Linked DNA regions of Homo sapiens: all the other regions are linked to region 1. Evidence: promoter capture Hi-C in 16 types of primary human blood cells and fetal thymus (Javierre and others, 2016). All regions are on one chromosome and are shown on one strand. Each heading gives the region's core, a stretch centred on a gene start or on the middle of the fragment in contact. The rest is flanking DNA. Distances are from core to core; before and after follow the strand shown.

Region 1 (3,510 bases), core at 410-2,909:
GACCAGCCTGGCCAACATGGTGAAACCCCCGGTCTCTAATAAAAATACAAAAATTAGCTGAGTGTGGTGGCTCATGCCTGTAATCCCAGCTACTCGGGAGGCTGGGGCACAAGAATCGCTTTAACAGAGGAGGCAGAGATTGCAGTGATCGGAGATCGCGCAACTACACTCCAGCCTGGGCGACAGAGTGAGACTCTGTCTCGAAATAAAAGAGATACTTCAGTCTGACATACCACAATCAACTACAATGTAATTGGAGGGAAGAGCCGATGTTGGACGGCTATCACACGTGGCTTCACACTGTTCTTTTTCTTCTCTGGCTGGGTACGGCCTGAGGATGACTGCCCTCCAACAACTGAGGATGCTGCAGGAGGACCAGCCCAGCACCTGTCTCCATCCCCTGCACTGTGTGGCCGGCTCTGCCGCTTCTCCCCCGCTTCAGCATCACCTGCCACTTCTTCTCAATCTGAAGCCACTAAGAACGATCAACACCAGACCGTTAAAACATAAACCAGTATGGGCCACTAAATAATTCGTAAATATTTCAAAATGTATTTCAAAACCGACTTTGTATTGTCAAAACATTATAATCTAGCCAGGCCAAGTTTTAATAAACAGTAACACCCATCATCACTACTGGGTAAAGAACTTCATTCAACAGGACCTACCTTGACACCAAGTCTAGAGCCTCGTTTTCAATTAAAAAAAAAATGGGTAAGCCCCAAATGTGCATTAAAAATTAGTTTGGCCATTTACTAAGTAGTCCTTCAAAGCATTTCCAAGTATTCAGAGTTCCAGTACTTTTCGGAAAGGAAGGGTGATCTTTCTGGTACTGGTTTGCATAATTATGCCTAAAAAATGTCATCTTGAATTTTCAATGAAAAGAGTCTTAAAATGTTCAGGCGAGTGGAGAAAATGGTGATCCGCTGGCGTTAGAAGTGGACAGAGAGGCTCTCAGTACAAACTGTATCTGAACGTGTTCCTCACAAATTAAGATCTGCACCGGGGGCTGGGGGGCTTTGAGAAAACTAACCACATTTGAATCCGGTCCACACAGCTTGAAGGCGGAGGTACGGGGCAAAGCGCGGCGGGGAAGAAACACCAGCAACTCGGCGGCCCCCGCCTCGCCGCAGATCACGTGCCCGGCGCCCCCTCCCGCAGGGCCGGGGGCGGGATGGAGACGCGGCCTCCCGCGCGCCTTCCGCACTCCCCTCCGCGCCCCAAACCCAGGGGTAGGGGTGGTCTCGGGTAACCATCCCCAGGGCGGCGGCGAGGGAACTGCGCGGGTTCAGAGTCCTCAGCAGCCACCACTGACGCCCCGACGCCCCCGGCTCCCCGCGCACCCCGCCGGTCCGTCCTGCGGCGGCGGCGGTAGGGGCCGCGTCTACGTGGCGCGGTCGCGGCGAGGCGGGGACTGGGACGCGAGGACCGGGAAGCGGGGACCGCGGCGCGAGGAGGGGCGGCTCAACCCGCGCCGCCCCGGAGGGTCCCGGCCTCCGGCAGGACAGCCCCGGGCCCGCGCCAAGGGAAGCCCCCAGGCGCAGACACTCACCGCCAGCCCCGGAGGGACGCCTGCGAGGAGCCCGGCCCGCGCCCACTTACCCACAGGGGCTCCGCTCCCGGCCAGCGGGCGGCTGAGGGCAGGCGGCGGCTGGACTGCGACGGCTAGGACCCGCCGGGGAGGGAAGCCGAGGGGGCGGGGCCGGTCGGGGGCGCGCGCGGGGTCGGAGCGCCCGCAGCCGCCGCTGCCTTGGAAGCCGCCTGGGCCGCAGCTGAGTCGGGCGGCCCTCATGAATGGGACGCCGCGGCTGCGGCGGCCGAGCCGGCAGCTGGCGGGCGGGCAGCGCGCAGGCCCCGCCCCAGCCACGTGACGCGCGCTCCCGGCCGCGCGCCGCGCCCCCGCCGCCGAGCGCCAGGCGTGCGGCTTCTCACCGCTCCCAGTCCCTGGGCTGCGCGCCCGGGCCCCTGGCCAAGTGAGGGCGGGGCCTCGATTTTCTAGTGCCTCGGGCGACAGGAGCCTTACTTTGTTTTAAAAAAAAAAAGTTTCTTCCGGTCCCCATGGCAACCCTGCGGCAGGTCACGTGGGACTGAGAGCCCAATTGCCAAAAAGGAATGTTAAAGTGCAAAAAAAGTCTAGGGAATGAATGTTTTATAATCCCCTTTTGATCACTAGTAGCACATCTCCTTTGCTTACTTACATCTCCACCGAAAAAAAAAAAATCCTATTACACAACTCATTTTTAAAAATATGCCGGGGTTCTGTTGTTTTTTGTTTATTCTTTTTATCGCTCTGTTACCCCGGCTGGTCTCCAACTCCTGGGCTCAAGCATCCCCGCACCTCGGCCTCCCAAAGTACTGGAATTACAGGCATGAGCCACCGTCCCCAGCATTAAAATATACTTTTTAAGAAATGGGTGGCTCACGCCTGTAATCCTAGCACTTTGGAAGGCCGAGGCAGGCGGATCACTTGAGGTCAGGAGTTCAAGACCAGCCTGGCCAACATGGTGAAACCCCCGTCTCTACTAAAAATACAAAAAACCAGCCGGGCGTGGTGGCGCGTGCCTGTAATCCCAGCTTCTCAGGAGGCTGAGGCAGGAGAATCAGTTGAACCCGGGAGGCGGAGATTGCAGTGAGCCGAGATGGCGCTATTGCACTCCAGCCTGGCGACAGAGAGACTCCGTCTCAGAAAGAAAAGAAATGGGGCCCGGCGCGGTGGCTCACGCCGGTAATCCCAGCACTTTGGGAGGCCAAGGCGGGTCGATCGCCTGAGGTCAGGAGTTGGAGACTAGCCTGGCCAACGTGGCAAAACCCCGCCTCTACTAAAAATACAAAAATTAGCCGGGCATGTTGGCTGCAATCCCAGCTACTTAGGAGGCAGAGGCGGTAGAATCACTTGAACCCGGGGGGCGGAGGTTGCAGTGAGCAGAGATTGCGCCACTTCACTCCAGCCTGGGAGCGAAACTCTGTCTCAAAAAAAAAAAAAACAAAAAAAACTGGATTGCTGGTGCTATATACTATTGGTGCACACTGGTTTTTAATTTGCAGCCTATTCTATTACTATTCTATGATTGAAAGTAATGAACAGAAGCCTATGTTACTTCTATATAAATGGCAGTTAATTTATGAGGTGCATCTTGTGTGTGATCATTTATACAGTTCTAAGGGTACTGAAATAGGCATTTGCATACACAAAGCTGCTCCTTGAAGGATCCAGCTGCAGCCCAGTTTCTTCCCACCAGTGCCTGGTGTAGCTGGGCAGTGCTTGGATTCAGGGAGCAGGCGACCACTTCTTCACTGAAGTTCCTTCTGCTTTTCTGTGAAACTCGATCAAGTTTTGCCCCATCTGTAATCAAGGCCCTACAGAAACATAGGTAGTTTCACTGGCACAAGACCACTAGGAATTTTCCTCATTTCACTGCTTCTCACTTGGCTTCACAAGTAAAATAAAAATTGAAGAGGACTAAAATATCCCCCTCCGTATTCAATGGATTTTATAAATATGGAGAAGAA
Region 2 (3,510 bases), core at 1-2,500, 230 kb after region 1:
GTTAACTTTGGAATACGTTAGTGGTTAATACACGGAACGTTCCCGAGATCCCTCAAGAAAGAAGCTACGAATACTTAGAAGATACTATTCCGCGGCGTTTACAGCAACACTGTCCGTTCCAGAAGGATTCAAGTGGCGGCCTGCTTTGAAGGCGAAGACCACAGGGCAACCCAAACTTCAGAAGGGTTCTGGCCACGGGAGCCACACTGGTCACTGTCCCCTAGTGCTGGGATGACGGCTCGAGTGTTAGAGGATCCCACTCTCTCCTCTGGTAGGTGAGGTCAGAGAGCTGAGGGGGCCAGAACAAGTCTTCCTTATCGGATTCTGGGCGGAAAAAGATAAAGTCGGGGAGGACTTTCTCTTTTTAATAAGATTCATCGTTACGAATTGTTCTAGGCAAGCAGACCTCAGGAGAAATAGGCCCAAGTTTTGATTCCTGTTTTCACCAAGTCGCAAGTCCTAATCGTAGCAAGAGGTGCGGGGAAGAGTCGCCTTCCTTCCTGCATAGTGGGATCCAAGTCAGGCTGTCCTTGTTAGCCAGGGTCAAAGGGGCTCTGCCAGGGAAAAACGACGGCAAATGTTTTTCAAGAGGAAGTCTCCAGCCACTTGTGACCTGGGAAATCCGTCTGGGCCAAAAAGATAGTGGAGGCTTGGCTGAGGGCCCCAGGGACACACGTTTCCTCCCGTATGGAGGGGGCGGGACTCTTAATAAAATTACACTGCACACAGAGCTAGCATCAAGATCCGCTCCCGGGATACGCGCACTGCTCCGGGGCCCTCAGGCGGAGACCCAGACCCCGCGCGGGGCGTCAAGCGCAGGCGCACTACCGCCCACAAGCTGGAGCCCGGCTTCGGGGCGGGGCGAGGGTCAGTCACGTGGGCCCGCAGCCCTCTCCTCGATTTCCCTACAAGGACTTGGGCCGACGGGCCCCGCCCTTCGCCGTGCCCTGGAATGTGCGGCCAGGCAAAGCCACAGGACGGACGCAACCATCTGCGGAAAGGATAGGGGGGAGGAAGACTTAACACTGCAACAACAGGTACAAAAAAGAAGGAAACTCAGTAACAGGACCCAGAGGACCATTATATATTGCTCTATATTCTAGGTCGCCCACTTTACACTTCCTTCTCATGCACTTGGTCAATACCACGCCCGCTGACCACACTGGCGACTTCCCTCTCTGTCGCCCCTCCGTGAAGTCAGACCCACTCTGCGGGCCAAGAAAGGTGACCGGGCTTCCTTCCGGCTTGCTAAGCAGAGGCCGGAAGCGGTGGTTTTTAGCGGCTCTCTGGGTAGCAGGGTGGTGTGATAGCGGCAGCGAGGGGCTCGGAGAGGTGCTCGGATTCTCGTAGCTGTGCCGGGTGAGTGGCGCTCGCGTTCGGGCGCGTGAGACCCATCCCGGGGACCCGTCTCCGCGGGGGCAGCTGGAGGGCGGCGGGGCTCCTGGCGCCGGTAGCGCACCTGGGCAGGTGTGCCAGCCAGGTCCCCGGTTCTGGGATCCGAGGCCATGGCTTGGAGTGGCCCAGACCCGAACTTCGCTCCTGTGCCCAAACTTGGAACTCTGGAAATGTGGCTTCGCTCACTGGCGCCTTGAGCTTGGGCGACTGCCGGGCCCGCGAAACCCGACCCCTGCAGAGCTGACTCCGGGACTATTTTAGTTTCTAACGTCAACTTGCCCGATTCAAGAGGGTTTGCGCAAAAACGTAGCCCGTTGTCCCCCTGCTGCAGCTGTTGTTGCAGCTGTGTGGCTGCGTTTAGTAGGAATAACCAACTCAAATTGGGAAGTTCTTCAGCTCAGTATCCGCTCCTGTAATTAGAACTTTTTTTCTTTAAGCGATGAAATTTTGGACAGAGAGATCTGGAGTTTAGTTTGTGACTCGAAGAAAAACTCCAAAATGTAATACCTTGTCCCATTTGGGGGGAAAGTTTGGGCTAATTCAATTCGCCATGGAAGTGTCTTCTTTTTAAAGTAGTTTAGTAGGTATATGAATGTATCTGTCAGTTCTTGAGAGACCTATGGATTTAGCAGAGATTTTAACTTAAGTGCAAAAAGTTTCATATTTAAAGGCGAATAAAGCGAATATTTCTTAAAATTATTGGTATTTGTTTCATGTTCTGGAAGGGCTCTAATAAACGGTAATCAGAAAAGCACTCTATTTTCAAAAGCGAGGCTTTACTGGCAAGTCAGCCCTCACAGCTAATTGTCTTTGTCCAGTGGTGAGAACTTTTGGGTGTGGCAGTCCAAGAGAACGAATCCTACCTTCAACCGGAAGTTTGCATAAGAAATGAAACTTGGTTTACTTGGAACGGAAGCACCAACTTGAAATACACTTTTTAAAAATTGTGGTTAGCACCAGAAAATAAGTTATACTTAGGCTTTTTTTTTTTAAGTGCATTGATTAAATGAGGCGGTATATTTGGTCAGGGTTTAGAAAGCCCACCAAATACTAGGTGCTATCACAGTACGCAGTGTTTTGTAAGATGGTGGTTTTTTCTTGCAGAATGTGTGATATTTCTCAGAATATTATCAATTTGAGTGTTCGTTTTGTAGAAGAAGTTTCTAGGTTATTTTACATTTATTGCCACTTTGTAAATAAATGCTGGACTCTAGGATTCTAACCACAGAACTCTAATGTATATATTGGTATGGATTAATCCCATTTTATAAATGAACATAGTTTCTAGAGATTCTGAAAACTTCTTGTGTCCTTTGGTGTGTGGGGAAAGCCACTTTGAGAATCTCTTCTATTTCTCCCACCTATTAATCTAGTCTAACATTTTCCTTAATCATGTTGTGTATCTCTCGTTACAGCCCACAATGATTCTGAGCTAAAACACAAAATAAAAACCAGATTCATTGCCACCAGCGCTCACCTCGCCTGACTTAAAAAAAAGGTTATGCTCCTTTAGATCTGTAAACTCAGTCTCCTAACTGCCCTTCATCCACTTTCTCATGCATCTGAAATCCTCATATTTTGTAGAAGCCTGTTCTGTAAGTCTCTCTACTTTCCAGTTTCGTACAACAGACACTCCTTGACACCAAGGATCTTTCACTTAATCCCTCAAAAATAAAGACTCGAGCTGGGTGCGGTGGCTCACGCCTGTAATTCCAGCACTTTGGGAGGCCGAGGCAGGTGGATCACGAAGTCAGGAGTTCAAGACCAGCCTGCACAAGGTGGTGAAACCCCGTCTCTACTAAAAATACAAAAATTAGCTGGGCATGGTGGTGGGTGCCTGTAATCCCAGCTACTCCAGAGGCTGAGGCAGAGAATTGCTTGAACCCTGGAGGTGGAGGTTGAGATCGCGCCACTGCACTCCACCCTGGGCGACAGAGCAAGACTCCGTCTCAAAAATAAATAAATAAAAATAAATAAGTAAATAAAGACTCGACTTTATGATTGAGGAGCTTCGTAATTTGGAAACCTCAGGTCCTTACCTGGCGATCTTTGCATCCTAAAGAATAATTACATTGACATGAAATCTTTTCAATTTATTTTACCCTAGCTTGCTTT
Region 3 (3,510 bases), core at 287-2,786, 210 kb before region 1:
CTAAAAGGCTGATAACTGGCTCTGCACCTGCACATTTATCTATTTTGATTTTAATTCAACAATTTTTACTTTATTTATTTTGTAGAGATGGGGTCTTGCTGTGTTGACCAGGCTGGTCTCAAGCTCCTGGGCTTAAGCTACTCTCCTGCCGCGGCCTCCCAAAGTACTGAGATTACAGGCCTGAGTCACCATGCTCGGCCCAACATCCACATGTTTAAAGCAAAACCTGTGGACCCATGACGTTGATTTGCCCTATCCCAGTTATAGTTACCATCAAGTCCCACTCGGAGAAGAGACTTGTTGGTAAAACAGTTCTATTTTTATAATAGTAGAAGAAATTCCAGCTAGCAATGTAATCCTCTTTCTTAAATGTAATTGTACAACTAACAGTCATCACACATATGAGGGTAGCCAGCAACGTGAGAGACAAAATTCAAGATTAAGTTCCAAAATCAACATGGAGGACAATTTAGTAAAGAGACTAGACCTCTTTTATAAAATTATAATTACTATGTAGCAGAAAGGAGCCAGGACAAGAATGAATAAACAGATTACAAATATTGTTGCTGAAATAAAAATGTTCAATAGGAGGATTAAAGTCCAAAAAGAAAACTTCCCCAATACAAAAAGAGATAGAAGACATAGAGAACCAATTCAGACTATTAGGAATCTAGAAAGAAGAAAATGGAGAAGGAAATGCTATCATGTGGAAGAGGATTTCCTAGGGATGAATAAAATTCATTGAATGCCCAGCAACAGTGACTGACAAAATACTCACTAAGATACTTCATAGTAATACTGTATCATATCAAGGAGAGGGAGAAAGAGTGTCAGTGATTTTAGAGAAGCCAAAGAACCATATTTTCAGTGCAGCCTTTAGTACATGGGGAGACACACACACAAAGCTATCATTTGTTTAGCTTTGTGATGGCGGTATTAGAAGTTTAGGTGGAAAATTTGGTGTATTCTGGACTGCGACTTTCTCCTCTTTGCATCCTGATTATATTCATGAAATTTGTTAAAATCACTATGAGGGATTTTCTCATCCTCAGTCTTTTCCTATTCTCTATAAATCTTTAATAAATCTCACACTCTCAAGAGGTCAGAGCATTTGAAATAAAAATCTTAACAGTATTGAATATTGGTATATTTCATCCATACAATCAGGAACAAATTTAATAGTAGGAAAGGAAATAGGTACATTATATGTGTTTCTGTATATTTATGTTTATGTTTTTATTTACATATGTATACTGAATATATATTTGTTACTGCTTATAGATCACATACTATGTTTCATCAACTTTAAGATTTCATTAACTATAAAAATGTCATTTTATGAAACATTAAAGAAAAATATTGCAAATTAACTCATGACCTTATAAAGTACATCTGGATTTCAGAGATGTTAAGTGTGAAAAAATATCTTAGAATTCATTAGATATGCTTAGCAATATATGATACTATGCAGTAGATTCCATTGTTTTCTTGAATAGAGGCTTCAGTTTTCTAAATAATTTTCCACTTATAAAGATTAAAAATTAGTTCTGTTAAAAATATGTATCATCTTCTATTTGGAGATAGTTCAGGGAACTATTAGAAAATATTTACATATACCTGAATTTTTAAAATCTGTAGCTATATATGTCAAGGTGCTCACTGTGTTCATCTCTACATGAATGAGATTATGAATATTAAATGTTTTATTTTGCTTGTCTTTGTTACTTTTCTGTAATAAGCATTATAATTCCTGTTCTTAAAATAATAAGTTCATTTAAGGAAAAGGGGGTGAAAGGAAAAATCTGCAGAATTTAGGTCTGAGATAATACCATTTCAAAGCACTGTGATACAAATTACTTATATATGTTATATACTGTGTGTGTGTTAACTACTTTTATTTGGGGGCTTGTTTTGCATACATGTGAAGGAAATGATTATATATAAGGATTTAATTAAATCTGTTTATACCAAGAATTATATTTAAAAGAATATGGTTTCATTGGATATTTAAGCATTCAGGTGTGATGAGGGAATTCAGGGAAAGGAAACCTTTGGTACATAAAACTTTTTTTTCTTTCCCCTTTGACCAGGATTATAACCAAAACAGATGTATGAGAGGTGACAGAGAGAAGAGGCCATTGGTCTCAGTAAGAATGCCCTGCTTTCTGCATCTCTGTTTCAGAAGACCAAGAGGGTGACTTACCAGACTGAGTATTTCTGGGGACAATACAAGTACCTGGGCATGAATTTCCATTTCGATTCAGATGGGACTGGAAACAACCATTCAATTTTATGAATCTTACTGGACATTATGGATTTACTGGAATTATTCCAGACATTATGCCCTTTGGTTGTCACTACCTTGCAAATGTGTAAGAGGAAAATGTGCTAATGTGGCAGTGACTGTAAAACTGGCACATGGCATTTATTAATCCTGAAGAAAAGTACATGTACTATTTTTCAGTATAAATATAATGAACATGTCAGAACTATTTCTTGAAAACCTTTTTATTACTTTTGCGTGAATTTATTTAACAAAGATGTTTTGTCTTTTGTGTAAGGGAGGTTCTAGAGGCTAGATGTTTAATTGTAAATATGTGAGGAAACTCAATGCAGAATTCAGGATAAAAATTTTAAAAGCACAGGTATTTGGGAATTGAAATGTTAAGATACCCAGAACAACATTAAATCAATGAGTGAACTTGTGACAGTGGTAGCATTTCAAATTTCAAAAGACTTATCCTGTGTGTGTGTGTGTGTGTATATATATATATATATATAAATATATATATATAAAATATTCAGCAGCACCAAGTTTTATAACTATTGTTTGTTTGACTTTATTAATACTAGAATATGTAGTCTCAGCCTTAATTTTACATTTACATTATTTTGTAATTTTTTATTACTATTTTTAAGGGGTTAAAGAGAACATACATTCTCACATTAGTGTACTTTCTGGTAGAAAGTTGCTGCAAAAACATTTGAAATGTATATTAACCTAATGTATGTCATATATATGTCTTTGTGTAAGTTCAAGACTATTGATCTGTGAAGTTATTTTGTAAGGACATACATTTGGTAAGTAAGTTTGTGTCCCAGGAAATGTATGTGTTTTTAAACCCTTTCTAAATATGCAGGCCATTAATAAATAAGATTGTTTCTTCCCTACTGAATAGATAAGTGTTTTTCTTTTTTAAAATTGGAAGCTTCATAAAAGTTATCTTGTTAAAAAACGATGATGATGTTAACCTATCTATCTTTATAATTGGAAATTATTTAAACTGTTTGTTGTTACAGAAGAAACAAAATGGTAATTACAGAATTAGCTGTGGGGAAGATTGGCTCCCATGGTACTACAGGTTGAGTATCCCTTATTCAAAATGGTTGGGACCTGAAGTGTTTTGGATTTTGGTTTTTTGTGGGGTTTTTAAATTATTATTTTGGAATATTTGCATTATATTTACCAATTTAGCATCCCTAATCCAAAAATCTTTCATTAGAAATTGG
Region 4 (3,510 bases), core at 558-3,057, 210 kb after region 1:
CCAAGGCTGATTAATCTTTTTGCTTTCCTGTGGTCTGTCAGGAATTGGGTTGACTTAGACTGAAGTATTGCCCTTTCATCATTCACCAGTGATTGTCAGTAAATGATGTGTTTGAATTTCCAGAAATATGACACAATTTCAAAATCTTGCACTTCGAGAAGAGAGATGGCCCCATCAGTATTTTCACATAATGGCATTCGCAACTAGAACTAGAACCAAACTACTGGAGAATCAAAATTCCATTTCATGAATCTGTTCATTTGTAACCCTAATGCATACATTATGTGGCATTTGCTGAAGACCTAAGGAACATTGTGTTCCATTCATTCGTCAGCATGAGTGGTGCACGGGTTGGAGAGTAGAAGTGCTGCAGTAAGCCAGGCACTGGGATTGAGGACAGAATGTGAGCTGACGCTATGACAAAGGGAGAATGCATTCAGACAGAGCTCACTATGTCCTCTTCTGCTTCAAACCTTCCAATGGCTCCTCACTGCCTATTCTTCCCCAGGTGGCCTCCTCAGCATGGCACGAGGGCATCTTCACCCTATGAGCCTCCATAATTCTCCAGCTCCGCCCCTCTCCATTCCCCTGCCTGCCTCCTGAGTTTCAACCACGGGTAATTCCTTGCAAGCCCTCAAACTCCAGGACTCCAGCACCCCGGTTCCCTCACACCTGGTGCTCCTCTCAGCCCTGCCAACACGCGCACACTTCCTCACTTCCTTCACCCCGCTCCTTCAACACCCCGTGCCATCTCCTTCCGGGAGACTTCCCTACTTCCACTAGGATGGGAAGTTTTTCGTGTGGTATTTACGTGTTTACTTTTCTGTCTCTGCACAATGAGTACTCACTGGTAGGAGCGGGATCTCTATGGCTAGGTGCTCCCAGTACCCAGCAAAGCTCCTGACCCACAACAGGCATTTAATAAAGAATTACTGAATGAGGAAAACTGGGAAATGTGGCAAAGGACAACTCCTCAGGACATAGGGACTCCTTAGAGATGGGAAAAAACAAGGGCTAGGAGTCAGTGTGGCCAGGGATCAGCTGTTCAGCTGCGGGGAGGACAACTGCTGTGAGCCCCTCTTAACCTGCGTGTGAGGCTCAGGAGCTGGTGGGTAGATTCTGGGAGAGGGACAAGCCCCTAAGCCAGAAAGCTGCCTGCACGCATAGTCCAGGCCAGGGAACTGGAGGTGAGTATTAGAAAGCAAGACCCCAAAGCCCATTTTCTAACATTTTTTGTCTCTACCTGTTTTTCTGTCTATTCATAAATAGATATCTGGTATGATAATGACTTCCAAATGATGAGATGCTTTCTCTTTCTTTTGTTTTTTTTTAACTTTCTTGTTTGTATTTTTTTTACTTGATTTTAAGATATAATTAGCATCAAGAACTGTGAAGGTATATACATACAATGGAATATTATTCAGCCTTAAAAAGGAGTGAAATCCTGACACACACTACAACATGGATGAACCCTGAAGACATTATGCAAAGTGAAATAAGCCAGTCACACAAGGACAAATAGTGTATGATTCCACTTATATGAGGTACCTAGAGTAGTCGAGTTTATAGAGAAAGCAGAACAGTGGTTGCCAGGGGCTGGGGAAAGGGGGTAATGAGGAGTATAGCTTAATGGGTAGAGTTTCAACATGGGATGATTAAAAAGCTCTAGAGCAATGTGAGCCGGGCGCGGTGGCTCACACCTGTAATCCCAACACTTTGGGAGACCGAGGTGGGCGAGTCACAAGGTCAGGAGTTTGAGACCAGCCTGGCCAACATGGTGAAACCCTGCTTTTACTAAAAATACAAAAAAATTAGCTGGGTATGGTGGCAGGCACCTGTAATCCCAGCTACTTGGGAGGCTGAGGCAGGAGAATCGCTTGAACCCAGCAGGCGGAGGTTGCAGTGAGCCATCGAGCCACTGCACTCTAGGCCAGGGGGCCGTACGAGACTCCATCTCAAAAAAAAATTAATTAATTTTTAAAAAGCTGTAGAGATGTGTAATGGCGATAGTTATACAACAGTGTAAATGTACTTACTGCCACTGAACTGTATCCCTAAAATGGCTAAAATGGTAAATTTAATGTTGTGTATATTTTACCACAATTTTTTAAAAAAAGGAACGCAGGAGTCAGAGATTTTACCCTACTTGCAAACTAAAAAGTGATCCTGCTACAGTTTCATGAGTGTTGACAGAAGACACAAGAAGACAAAGAGCTTTACTCCTGACAGCAAGAGCAGTGGCCAAGTGTCAGCATATTCTTCACTGGTTTGCCAGCCCCCAATCCCCATGTTCCCAAAGGACAACGTGATGAAGACCAGGTGACACCTGCAGTCACAGTGGGCTGCATTACAGAAGAAGAATCTTGACTTTAGAGCACCTGAATATTTCATCATGAGCATTCAGCATACCTGCCCTTTGCTTCAGAGGGAGATATTCTTGTTACACTGGATAGTAAGCGTGTCTGCCTTTTGCTGTGGCTGGAGACACTTACTCTGTCTTCAAAGGCTGTTCACTATATGAACAGTCCTGCAGAAACAGGCTGGAACAACGGAGAGCCAGATCTTCGCTTGCAACATGTGCCGAAACACAAGAAGCCCGCGGAGAACTGTCTCCCGACAATGACTGTGTGTTACTTTTACAAAAATCATATGGTTTTTTTTTTCCTTTAAAAGTAAGAACCAGAATAAAGATCAGCAGATCTGAGTTTTCAGTTTCAATTCATTTCGAATTTCCTTTTAACAGTTTATAGCAATAAAATTGACACACCATAAATTAATCCATTTTAAGAGTAAAGTTCAGGGAGTTTTAGTCAATTTTTACATTGTGCAACCATCACCAAAATCCAGTTTTAAAACACTTCCATCACCCAGAAAAGTTTCCTCAGGCTTGTCTGCAGTTAATCCTGGGTCCCGCGCGTGACCGAGGCCACCACTGACCTCTGTCTCTACAGTTCAGCTTTTTCTAGAAATTTCACACAAATGGAATCCTACCATATGTAGTCATTTGTGTCTGGTTTCTTTCACTTGGCAAGATGTTTTTGAGTTTCATCTGGATACTGGATGCACCAGTATTGCACTTGGTTCTCACCAATGTCCTACCCTGTCCGCAGTTGTCCTTTCAATAACAATGAATGAATGTGTTGTATTGCTCTGCTATAATTTGTTACCTGGTCTCTAAGTGTTGAGCACCTGGAAATTTCCAGTCATTCACCAGGACTAGAAGCTGGAAGCAGGCATTTGGAGCATCTTTAGTTTCAACCCAGCTCTTTTATCACCTCTCTGTGACTTCTTTTGAGAGGCCTTTTTTAGCCTCTCGGGCTCTTGTTTATTCATAGTTCCCCCAATAGAGTGGGATTGGAAGAGTGGTTCTCCTTCCTGGCTATACATTAGTATCACCTGAGGAGCTTTGAAACTGTACTCAGGCCTAGGCCATATTCTAGGACAATTAACTCCATATCTCTGGCATGAGACATGAACATCAGTATTTTTTAAAAGCTCCTAAATGATTCT
Region 5 (3,510 bases), core at 371-2,870, 190 kb after region 1:
AGTGCTGAAATGGTAAAACTCTTAGAAGAAAAGATCAGAGAAACTCCCTAAGGTGTTGACTTAATCAAAGAGTTCTTAGATAAAATACCAAAAGCATGATTTGAAAGGAACAAAATTGTTGAACTGAACTTCATCAAAATTAAAAACTTCTGGTTTTGGAAAGACACTGCAGTAAAGAGAAGGAAAAGACAAGGCACAGAATATGAGAAAATATTTGCAAACATATCTAATAAAGGACTTGTATCCAAACCATTTAAATAACTATGACAACTCAATAAGAAAAAAATCCAATTAAAAAATGGGCAAAACATTTGAATAGGCATTTCACTAAAGAAGATACAGAAATGGCTACTAAATGCAAAAAAGATGGTTAACAAAATTGGTCATTAAGCAAATGCAAATCAAAACCACAACAAAACTCTATTACACACACATTATAATGGCTATAATAAATAAGACAGAAAACAATAAATGTTGACAAGGATGTGGATAAACTAGAATCCCCATACATTTTTGTGGGAAGGTAAAACAGTACAACCACTTTGGAAAACCACTGGGTAGTTTCTTATAGAGTTAAATGTAAACTTAGCATACAACCCAGCTGGTATTTCAGAAAGTGCACGAGAAAGTTTATTTCAAACATTATTGAACAATCTCCTTGTTCAATCGTTCACAATGTATATACATATAACACGTTATAATACCACTGAAATCCTCACGGGTTTATTTCTTAACATTCTGTAGCAATTTCATTTATTTGACAAAAAAAATTATTGAGTATCTACTGTGTGCAAAATACTGTGTTTGGCACTGGGGTAGGAGTAGGATACAAGGATAAATGTAAAACCCTTGTCTTCTGAGAGCTTTACGGTCTAGTAAGGGAGCAAATATATTATGTCAATCAAGGAAGAAAGGATGGAAGAACACAAAGAAGGAAGGCCAGTAACCACAAAGGCCAGTGCAAACAAAATGTGAATTCACACACTCGAGAGTGAGCTTCTGTCTGGGGTTATCAGGGAATCCTTCGTGGAAGAGCTGGACATTCAAAGATGGGTAGGACATCCCAGGATGAAAAGCTCTGTTTTTAATGCTGACTTATCTATGTGTTTTCATTAGGCTTTACTGAAAGGCCACAAAAGAGCTGAATTCATTTTTTCTATTCTAAAAATGTTCCTTTAAAAACTTCATCTTTACATATATTTACAGCTCCGTACTGTTCACATATATGCGAAATGCTCAGCCGTTTACTGGAAGAGAGAAAGAGGCCATGTTTTTAAACTGTGGGTCAGCTTTTTCTGGGCCTCTTCTGGGCTGTCTTTGCTCCAGTTAGCTGCTCCTCCGCAGGGCTTCAGCATCTGAATTACATCTCTCATCTTTAGGACCCTGTGCAGAGTCGCTGGGAATTTGCATTCTCTTTTCTACTCTCCAATTTTCTGTTCGCCACAATTTCCTCTTCGCAAAACCTGAAAAATGATACTTTTCTTTGGACTTTTGTGAAAACGTTGTTTTGGATCTACTTTTGATTGAGAACAGCTTGGTTTTGTGCTCCTCCTTTGATACAGGCAATCCCGGTGGCCTAACACCTACTGATTCTTGATTCTCCCATTTCCCAATCTTGACACACATGGAGGTTTCAGGAGAACATCAAAGTTCGCGGACAAGTAGAAAGCTGAAGAGTCCTCTTTTTGCTAATACACTTTTCAGAAAAAGTTTCTTATGGTACAAACATGAATTTAGTTAGATCGACATGATCCTTGAAATTTACTGACAGGTAGCGTCATAATAAATATTATGATGTCAAAATAAATAGCCTTCCCTTGGATTTTAATTTTTTTTGCATTATTTATCTTACACTAATCTCTTCTCTTCATTTTACTCTTAGCCATATCTCACTTTCAGTTTTTTTTAAAAAAAACTATTTAAATAGGAATATAACCGCAATTTTTTCATTTAATTTATTGCTTTATTTTTTCCATGATTTAAATTTCCATTGATATGTAACATTTTCCTTGCTTTTTCAGTAACTTTACACAGTTAGTGTATAGCCATGATATAAAAACAAATGCCCTAGGAATGTAGAATATTCATGTGTTCTAGAAAAGGTGGATGTGTAAAACTCTGAGAGAATTAAATCTCTTATGGTTCTTGTCTATATACATCCTTCAGTTGTTATTCACTTCTGACTATTCCATAAGTGAATTTAATCGGACTACATTATAGTTTTTAAGCAAGAGTAAAAGAGTTTAACCCCATATTTCCTAGACATTATAGTATAAAGACACTTGACAATAGTATCAGGAGATGCCTTACTAAGTCTAAGGTTGTTTCTTTGTGAACTGAGGTGTCCAGGGTTTGTCAAAGCAGGTCTTATTAACTTATTTATAAAGCAGCCCAGACACCAATATCCACTCTACTTTGGGATGGTCACTGGGATTGACTAGACATTGCACGAAAGTTACCTTACTCTTGCTTTCTTGTTTCATCTAAAAGATGGCTGTGGGAAACCTCAAGCCTGTTGCAAAGGCACCCTTGGGCTTCCAGAGTCCAGAGGTCTCTCTGTGGAAGCTCAGTTACACCCCACTACCTGGCCAGTGCCGACACTATGGAGGCCAAGGGCCTGCAGGGACAGAGCAAATGTTTCACCTCTGAGCCCAGGGAGGTAGCAGCTTTGCCCTTCCTCCGCCTCTGGCTGACTCATTCTACTCTGCTCTACTCTAGGAAAAGGACATGCCTTCTCACAGCATGATTCACCTGCCTAGGGAAGACTATGCCATTCTGGGTATATCTGGTGCCATCTCAACTTGATTTAGGCTGCATGAGAGCCTGGTAAAAGAGTCAAGCACAGCAGGCAAAGAAGGAACCACATCTTTCTGGGCCTCAGTCTACACATCTATGAAAGGAGGGGCTTAAATTATATGAACTTTTGGTCCTTTCTTGCTTTAACATTCCACAGTTCTATGGATCTATAAATTGCCAATTATGTGAACCTGTTGTTACCAGGAGTGAGAATCCTAGCTCTCTCTCCCTGTGTTTACAGCTGAGGAAGTTGGAGCAGGAGGCTGATACATAGAAAGGACCATTCTCCTTGGATTTAGGGTTGGTCTTTGGGATTCAGAACATAATGCAACAGGCCAGGCACGGTGGCACACACCTGTAATCCCAGCACTTTGGGATGCCAAGGTGGGTGGATTGTCCGAGCTAGCTCGGGAGTTTGAGACCAGCCTGAGCAACATGGTGAAACCCCGTCTCTACAAAAAACACAAAAATTAACTAGGCATAGTGGCACGCGCCTATAGTTCCAGCTACTTGCGGGCTGAGAGGACTGAGCCAAGAGGATCTGCCTGAGCCCAGGAGGTGGAGGTTGCAGTGAGCTGAGATCGCACCACTGCACTCCAGCCTGGGCAACAGGGCAAGATCCCATCTATTAAAAAAAAACCATAATGCAACAGCCTTTTAAACAAAGTAACTCTCTGGCTTTTCTGCTTTCATAGATATTTCCCTCTGAACTTC
Region 6 (3,510 bases), core at 502-3,001, 190 kb before region 1:
CCGTTTCTCTCCATATTCTCACTGACACTGGGCATTGTCAGACTTGTAAATTTTTTTCCATCTGTCAGGCATGTAGCATGATCCGACTGTATTAGATATTAACTCATGAAGTAGGTATTAACTTGTACTTTCATGATTATTAATGAGGTTGAGCATATTGGCATTTATTGGCCATTTGAGTTTCGTATTTCTTTGAAGTGCAGATTCCAGTTTTTGTCTATTTTTCTATTGGATTGTTTGTCTTTTTCTTGTTGATTTGTCATTGTTGCTGATTTGCTAAGTTCCACCATAAATTCTTTCTCAGTTATTTGTTGTAACATCTGAGAGGGCCTGGAGGCACCGGAGAAGCTTCAAAGAAGGGCTGAGGACAGAGGTCTTGTAGGTGGAGCTGAAGTTCTCCAGGCAGCGAGGTTAGCCCTGCCATCCCACACAGAGGAGCAGCTTGGGCAAAGATTACACTGGCTGAAGGGCCTCCAATCACACGTAACTGGAAAGAGGTAGAAAGGAGAAAGAATTGCTTTCTCCACTCAGCTTTCTCAGGCAAATTCAATGTGTTTCTGGCTTGAACATTCCTGTTTTTGAAGACTGCTTACAATGTGGATAAAATGGATTTGTGTATCTCCAGTTGGGGCTTTAGCTCTGCCTGGAGTCTTTGAAGGCTTATCTCTGAGAAATTACCACAGATCTTTGGGGAGGAGAGTGGGGCAGATTGGAGGACAGCATCCTCTAAATGAAGTCATTTTCATGGTCAAGACTTGCTCCCTTTACCTTTTTTTTTTTTTTTGAGACAGAGTCTCGCTCTGTTGCCCAGGCTGGAGTGCAGTGGCATGATTTCAGCTCACTGCACCCTCAGCCTCTCGAGGTCAAGCGATTCTCTTGCCTCAGCCTCCTGAGAAGGTGCCTGCCACCATGCCCAGCTAATTTTTGTATTTTTAGTAGAGATGGGGTTTCACCATGTTGGCCAGGCTGGTCTCGAACTCCTGACCTCAAGTGATCTGCCTGCCTCAGCCTCCCAAAGTGCTCCTTTAAAATTCTGAAGTATCTTGAATAAGTATTTGGAACCCCAATCTAACAAGATCATTCATCATGAATCTGCCCTTCAAAAGATATAATTTATTTGTATTTCTCTGGGAATCATTTAGGAACAGCAGTTCAAAGCTTGAAATGGGTTTTCTTCTTTTGTTATCTCTCACAGTTGACAGATCTCTCTTGCTAAGCTGCGATTTGGCAGTGCTTGGCTCTTAATCCCAGCTATTTAAAAGTACAGTTAAGGAAAACTGTAATTCTGAGGCAATGCGTGTTTTGAAACCTTATTTGGCCTCTCATTATCTCATTCATTGGGGCGGGAAGCACTCAGGCTGGGGTCACATGCTTGGCCTAGGGAGAGGATGACTATTCTGTCCTCGGACTGACCGGGCCCTGGAGTCGGGCAGGGAAGGCTGAAAATAGTCATTTCTTGGCTGCATTGGTCAGGCAGGAGGGTCTCTGTAACACAGGGTCGCTGACAAGTGAGACGGAGACACAAGGTCCCCGGAGGTCGGCCTCAGCAGGGACAGTGCATGTGTTTGTAGGACAGTTGAGGAAGTCCTAAGCAAAGCTTTACAGAGCTTTAGATTGATTACAGTTGTTTACAATTGTTACAAGAGAAAACTAAAGTGTAGTCTTCTGTTCAAAGTTTGAATTTTCAACTCATTTCTGAGTTAGCATTCCTGGATCTTAGTTCTCATCGAAATCAAGCATCACTTTCCCCCTGTATATTATTATGTTAATTTGGTCAACTGTCTTGTAAAAGTCAGATGCCTGTCTGCTTGTTCTCACTCATTTGACCTATGTGATTAAACAAGTATTATGCACCAGGAACTGTGCCAGGCATAGGGATAAAATATGAATAAGACAAATAAGAAACAAGCTTTTCCTCTGATGAGTCTTTGTTCAAAGCTAATAGCTGGGGCTTGGTTCGGTGGCTCACTCCTGTAATGTCAGCACTTTGGGAGGCCAAGGCGGGCGGATCACATGAGGCCAGGAGTTCGAGACCAGCCTGGTCAACATGGTGAAAACCTGTCTCTACTAAAAATACAAAAATTAGCTGGGTGTGGTGGCACACACCTGTAGCCCCAGATACTCAGGAGACTGAGGCAGGAGAATCGTTTGAACCCAGGAGGCGGAGATTGCAGTGAACTGAGATTGCATCACTGCACTCCAGCCTAAATGAAAGAGCAAGATTCTGCTTAAAAAAAAAAAAAAAAAGTAACAGGAGGGCACAGCGATTCACACCTATCATCCCGGCCCTTTGGGAGGCTGAGGCAGGAGGATCACTCGAGGCCAGGAGTTGGAAGCCAGCCTGGGCACTATAGCAAGACACCATCTTTATTAAAAAAAAAAAAAAAAAAAGGAAAAACTGGTGTTGGGGGTCAGAACGGATGTGACTTTGGGGTACTGTTGATAACTGGAAGGAGCCACAAGGGGCTTTCCAGGGGTGGTCGTGTTTTGCTTCATGATCCTGATGCTGGTTCCATGGCTATGTTCACTTTGTGAAAATTCACTGGGCTGATTATCTATGATGTTGCCCAGGCTGGGTACCATTTTAATATAAGTCTCCTGGTGCACTTGTCCAAGATTTCCTTAAGGGTATATATATCTAGGGGTGCAATTGCTGGGTTTTAGAGTACACACCTGTTCAAATATAAATAGTAATGCAGACTGTTTTCCAAAGTAGTTGAACCAGTTCAGGCCCTATCTTAGTCTGTTTTGTGTTGCTTTAAAGGAATACCTGAGGCTGGGTAATTTGTAAAGAAAAGAGGTTTATTGGGCTCATGGTTCTACAGGCTGTACAAGAGGCAGCTGAGGTGAGAGGGTCACTTGAGCCAGGCATTCGAGGCTGCAATGAGCTGCGGTTGTGCCACTGCACTCCAGCCTGGGTGACAAAGCAAGACACAATCTCTTTTATTTTATTTTATTTTTTTTGAGGTGGAGTCTTGCTCTGTCACCCAGGCTGGAGTGCAGTGGCACGATCTCATCTGACTGCAAGCTCCGCCTCCCAGCTTCACACCATTCTCCTGCCCCAGCCTCCCAAGTAGCTGGGACTACAGGCGCCTGCCACCACGCCCGGCTAATTTTTTTGTATTTTTTTAGTAGAGATGGGGTTTCACCATGTTAGCCAGGATGGTCTCAATCTCCTGACCTTGTGATCTGCCTGCCTCGGCCTCCCAAAGTGCTGGGATTACAGGCGTGAGCCACCGCGCCTGGCCCAACACCATCTCTTAAAACGAAAAAAATCATCACATGATTTGAACTTGGAACTTTCTGACCTCAAAACTGTTTAAAAACCCTAAAAAAAATTCTCAAGCAGGGAAAATGAAAAAACTAAAACAACATAAACATGCTATGGACAGATCAAAGCTGCTACTATCTTTTGACTAATGGAAAAAGCAAGGTGAAATGAGCGTTTCCTGTTTAGAGAGTGTCGAGGGGTCAAGGAGGACCCTGCCTTCATATTCTATTGCACTCTTA
Region 7 (3,510 bases), core at 568-3,067, 140 kb before region 1:
GCTGGGCAGAGACGCTCCTCACATCCCAGATGGGGCGGCGGGGCAGAGGCGCTCCCCACATCTCAGACGATGGGCGGCCAGGCAGAGACGCTCCTCACTTCCTAGATGGGATGGCGGCGGGGAAGAGGCGCTCCTCACTTTCCAGACTGGGCAGCCAGGCAGAGGGGCTCCTCACATCCCAGACGATGGGCGGCCACGCAGAGACACTCCTCACTTCCCCGACAGGGTGGCGGCTGGGCAGAGACTGCAATCTCGGCTCTTTGGGAGGCCAAGGCAGGCGGCTGGGAGGTGGTTGCAGCCAGCCAAGATCACACCACTGCACTCCAGCCTGGGCACCATTGAGCACTGAGTGAACGAGGCTCCCTCTGCAATCCCGGCACCTCGGGAGGCCGAGGCTGGCGGATCACTCGCGGTTAGGAGCTGGAGACCAGCCCGGCCAACACAGCGAAACCCCGTCTCCACCAAAAAAATACGAAAACCAGTCAGGCGTGGGGGCGCGCGCCTGCAATCGCAGGCACTCGGCAGGCTGAGGCAGGAGAATCAGGCAGGGAGGCTGCAGTGAGCCGAGATGGCAGCAGCACAGTCCAGCTTCGGCTCGGCATCAGACGGAGACCGTGGAAAGAGGAGAGGGAGAGGGAGAGGGAGACCAATTCTTCTTTAAATGTCTGTTAGGATTTAGCTGTGAATCCATCTGGTCCTGGACATTTTTCTTGTTGTATTTTCAAAATGCTAACATACATCTGTGATGTTTTGTGTTATTTTACACAATATGTCAGTTTGAAGGGAGTTTTTTTTTTTTTTAATCCTGTTTGGCTTTCTTCCTTAATCATTGATCCAATACCTTTAAAAGAACAAAAGTAAATATTAGACCTGAGTTCTCTATAGGCAGAAACAATTGGTTATGTGTCTGAAGAGTAATCTGATACATTTTTAAAAAACCAACTCTAGTTAAACCTACATTCTGAAACTTTGACAAAGACTTAATGATGCTGATTTTAGTTTCTATGTAATTGAAATATGTTATTGCATAGTCAAGAAAAGACTTCTCTGGTACTTCCCTTTCACAGATTTGAAGAGATTTAAAAATACCTTAATGCAGAAATTACATAGTTAAAAAAAAAAAAGCTTAATTGAAGTATAATTTACATGAGTAAGCCACATATTTGAAGTTGTACAGTTTAATATTTTGACATATATACCCGTGAAACCAACATCACAATCAACATATCCCTTGCTAATCTCTCCCTCCAGTTTCTCTCCACGTACCCCCTCCCTGGGAACTGCTGATCCACTTTCCCTCACTAGGGATAAGTTTGCATATTTTAAAGTTTTATGTAAATAGAGTCATACAGGTTGTACTCTCTTTTGACTGGCTTCTTTCATTGAACAGAAAGATTTTGAGATTCATTCATGTTGTAGTATGTATCAGTAGCTGATTTTTTTTTTTGAGATGGGATCTCACTATATTGCCCAGACTGGTTTTTGAACTCCTGGGCTTAAGTGATCCTCCCACCTCAGCCTCCTGAGTGGCTAGGACTCCAGGTGTGTGCCACTGCACCTGGCTGTAGTTGATTACTTTTTGTTGTTGGATAGATTCCTCTGTGTGTGTGTGTGTGTTTGTGTGTGTGTGTGTGTGTGTGTGTGTACCATCATTTGTATAGTTGCTGAAGACGTGGTGAAATACAGAGTGGGCAAAATAACTTTTACTGATAGTAAGGATACTTCTCGGAGTTTCTGAAGAACAACTGATATGGGAAATACATTACAGATATAGAACACTAGATAATAATGGACTAGGCATGGTGGCTCACACCTGTAACACGACACTTTGGGAGGCTGAGGCAGGTGGATCACTTGGGCTCAGGTGTTAGAGACCAGCCTGGGCAACATGGCAAAACCCAGTCTCTACCAAAAATACAAAAATTAGCTGGGCGTGGTGGTGCACGCCTGTGGTCCCAGCTACTCAGGAGGCTGAGGTGGGAGGATCGCTTGGGCTGGGGAGGTTGAGGCTACAGTGAACTATGATTGTGCCACTGCACTCCAGCCTACGTGACAGACCCTGTCTCAAAAGAAATAAGTAAATAAAAATAAAAACATAATGAAGTAAAAAACATTTCACATTTATAGCCCTGGAAAATGTTGGATTAAGGATTCATAATTAGCATAAGCCATTTTGAATTGTCAGAAAGCTCAACAGGCTTGAAAGAAGACTTATTATTTGAAGACTATTTGTTTCATTAAACAAATATTTTTGTTCAAAGCCTACATGTGGCCCAGAACTAGTTTCTACAGTGATACAGTAAGGATCTTTCTGTTGGCTTCTGGAAGTGCACATCTAGCAAGTGAATTGAAAGATAAACATAAATAATTACGACATAAAAGGTGGGAATGAGAATTGTAGTAAGAGAAACACAACGTGCTGGGGTGTTCAGAGGTAGAAGAAAGTTATTTCCAGCCAGGAGGAATCCGAGAACTTGTTTGCAAGTGGTGACGTCTTATGGCTTTGAAGGAAGCTTCTAGTTGAATATATGCAGATGTGAGAGAAGGCCAAGGTCAGCGTAAGCCAAGACACACGAGCAGGGACCTGGAGGTGGGTGTCCACAGGGGGTCGTAGATCAAGACATCAGCAGGGTTGGTTCTCCTGAGGGCTTCGAGGGAAGGATCTGTTCCAGGCCTCTCTCCATGGCTTGTAGATGTCCGTCTTCTCCCTGTGTCTCTTCACATAATCTTCCCTTCTGTGTGTGTCTGTCTCTGTCTCCAAATTCCCCCACCACCCTTTTTTTCTTTAGCTACCTGTTAACTAAATTTTCCCTGGTTTCTAAGGACACTAGACCTATTGGATCAGTACCCACTCTAATGACTTTGTTTTAACTTGTTTTAACTTGATCACCTCTGTAAAGACCCTATCTCCAAATAAAGTCACATTTTCCGGTACTGGGGGTTGGGACTCCAAAATATCTTTCTGGGGGGCACACAATTCAGTCCAGAACACTGTGGTTGGGAGTGTGGGCTTTCTTATCCATGCAGAGGAGGGTCATGAATGCTTTCATTGGGGACATCATCAAATTTGGGCTTTTCCCCCCTTTTTGTGGAGGATGGGGTCTTGCTATGTTGCCCAGCCTGGCCTCGAACTCCTGGGCTCAAGTGATCCTCCTGCCTCTGCCTCCCTAAGTATTGTGATTACAGGCGTGAGCCACCACACCTGGCAGGGACATCATCAGAGCTGTGCTTTCAAATGCTACCCAGCTGTGTGTGCAAAACGTACTTGGGTTGGGGGACCATGTGGGGTGAGGGGCACAGGAGGGACTCACTCAGGAGACTGGCAGTCCGTGCCAGAATGGAGGGGGATGCCCAGCTGGCAGTGGAGGGTGTGAGCATTGGGCCTGGGACCGCAGTTCCTCCTGCTCCACAGGTTCTGAGGACGTGGAGATTTGGCACTGAGCGGGGATCTGTGTGCTCCTCTGTTGAGGGTATTGCTAGAAAGGACCACGTGTTGCAAAAGAAGTTGAA

The links. The method cuts DNA at HindIII sites, captures the fragments that hold promoters and counts their contacts. A CHiCAGO score of 5 or more calls a contact.
Region 2: a contact is called between the fragment with the promoter of MYL12A here and the fragment with the promoter of LPIN2 in region 1, in 14 of 17 cell types (monocytes, naive B cells, total CD8 T cells and 11 more). The highest score is 9.4, in monocytes.
Region 3: a fragment that was not itself captured here is called in contact with the fragment with the promoter of LPIN2 in region 1 in 6 of 17 cell types (naive CD8 T cells, activated CD4 T cells, neutrophils and 3 more); the score reaches 8.4 in naive CD8 T cells.
Region 4: a contact is called between a fragment that was not itself captured here and the fragment with the promoter of LPIN2 in region 1, in 7 of 17 cell types (activated CD4 T cells, naive CD8 T cells, total CD4 T cells and 4 more). The highest score is 10.1, in activated CD4 T cells.
Region 5: a fragment that was not itself captured here is called in contact with the fragment with the promoter of LPIN2 in region 1 in 10 of 17 cell types (naive CD8 T cells, activated CD4 T cells, total CD4 T cells and 7 more); the score reaches 11.6 in naive CD8 T cells.
Region 6: a fragment that was not itself captured here is called in contact with the fragment with the promoter of LPIN2 in region 1 in 1 of 17 cell types (activated CD4 T cells); the score reaches 6.2 in activated CD4 T cells.
Region 7: a contact is called between a fragment that was not itself captured here and the fragment with the promoter of LPIN2 in region 1, in 1 of 17 cell types (activated CD4 T cells). The highest score is 6.6, in activated CD4 T cells.

Annotation. Positions count from the first base shown.
Region 1 is chr18:3,011,485-3,014,994 of GRCh38, forward strand. It overlaps LPIN2 (lipin 2), which reads right to left and starts at 1,660. Exons shown (of 20, transcript NM_001375808.2): 1 at 1,603-1,660. RefSeq lists a silencer at 1,101-2,050. The HindIII fragment of the contact is 8,581 bases long and covers 1-3,510 here.
Region 2 is chr18:3,246,551-3,250,060 of GRCh38, forward strand. MYL12A (myosin light chain 12A) reads left to right here and starts at 1,251. Exons shown (of 4, transcript NM_006471.4): 1 at 1,251-1,359. It also overlaps a transcript of MYOM1 not described here. RefSeq lists enhancers at 958-1,187, 2,320-2,389 and a silencer at 1,478-1,557. The HindIII fragment of the contact is 13,247 bases long and covers 1-3,510 here.
Region 3 is chr18:2,800,438-2,803,947 of GRCh38, forward strand. SMCHD1 (structural maintenance of chromosomes flexible hinge domain containing 1) reads left to right here. Exons shown (of 48, transcript NM_015295.3): 48 at 2,091-3,510. The coding sequence ends at 2,115. Among named protein-coding and RNA genes, the nearest start is that of EMILIN2, 45 kb to the right of the region's middle. The HindIII fragment of the contact is 3,341 bases long and covers 1-3,207 here.
Region 4 is chr18:3,225,859-3,229,368 of GRCh38, forward strand. It overlaps a transcript of MYOM1 not described here. Among named protein-coding and RNA genes, the nearest start is that of MYOM1, 7.6 kb to the left of the region's middle. The HindIII fragment of the contact is 8,579 bases long and covers 1-3,510 here.
Region 5 is chr18:3,205,099-3,208,608 of GRCh38, forward strand. The region is part of intron 2 of MYOM1 (myomesin 1); the gene reads right to left. Among named protein-coding and RNA genes, the nearest start is that of MYOM1, 13 kb to the right of the region's middle. The HindIII fragment of the contact is 7,009 bases long and covers 1-3,510 here.
Region 6 is chr18:2,825,402-2,828,911 of GRCh38, forward strand. No RefSeq gene overlaps it. Among named protein-coding and RNA genes, the nearest start is that of EMILIN2, 20 kb to the right of the region's middle. The HindIII fragment of the contact is 312 bases long and covers 1,596-1,907 here.
Region 7 is chr18:2,868,169-2,871,678 of GRCh38, forward strand. The region is part of intron 2 of EMILIN2 (elastin microfibril interfacer 2); the gene reads left to right. Among named protein-coding and RNA genes, the nearest start is that of EMILIN2, 23 kb to the left of the region's middle. The HindIII fragment of the contact is 1,388 bases long and covers 1,124-2,511 here.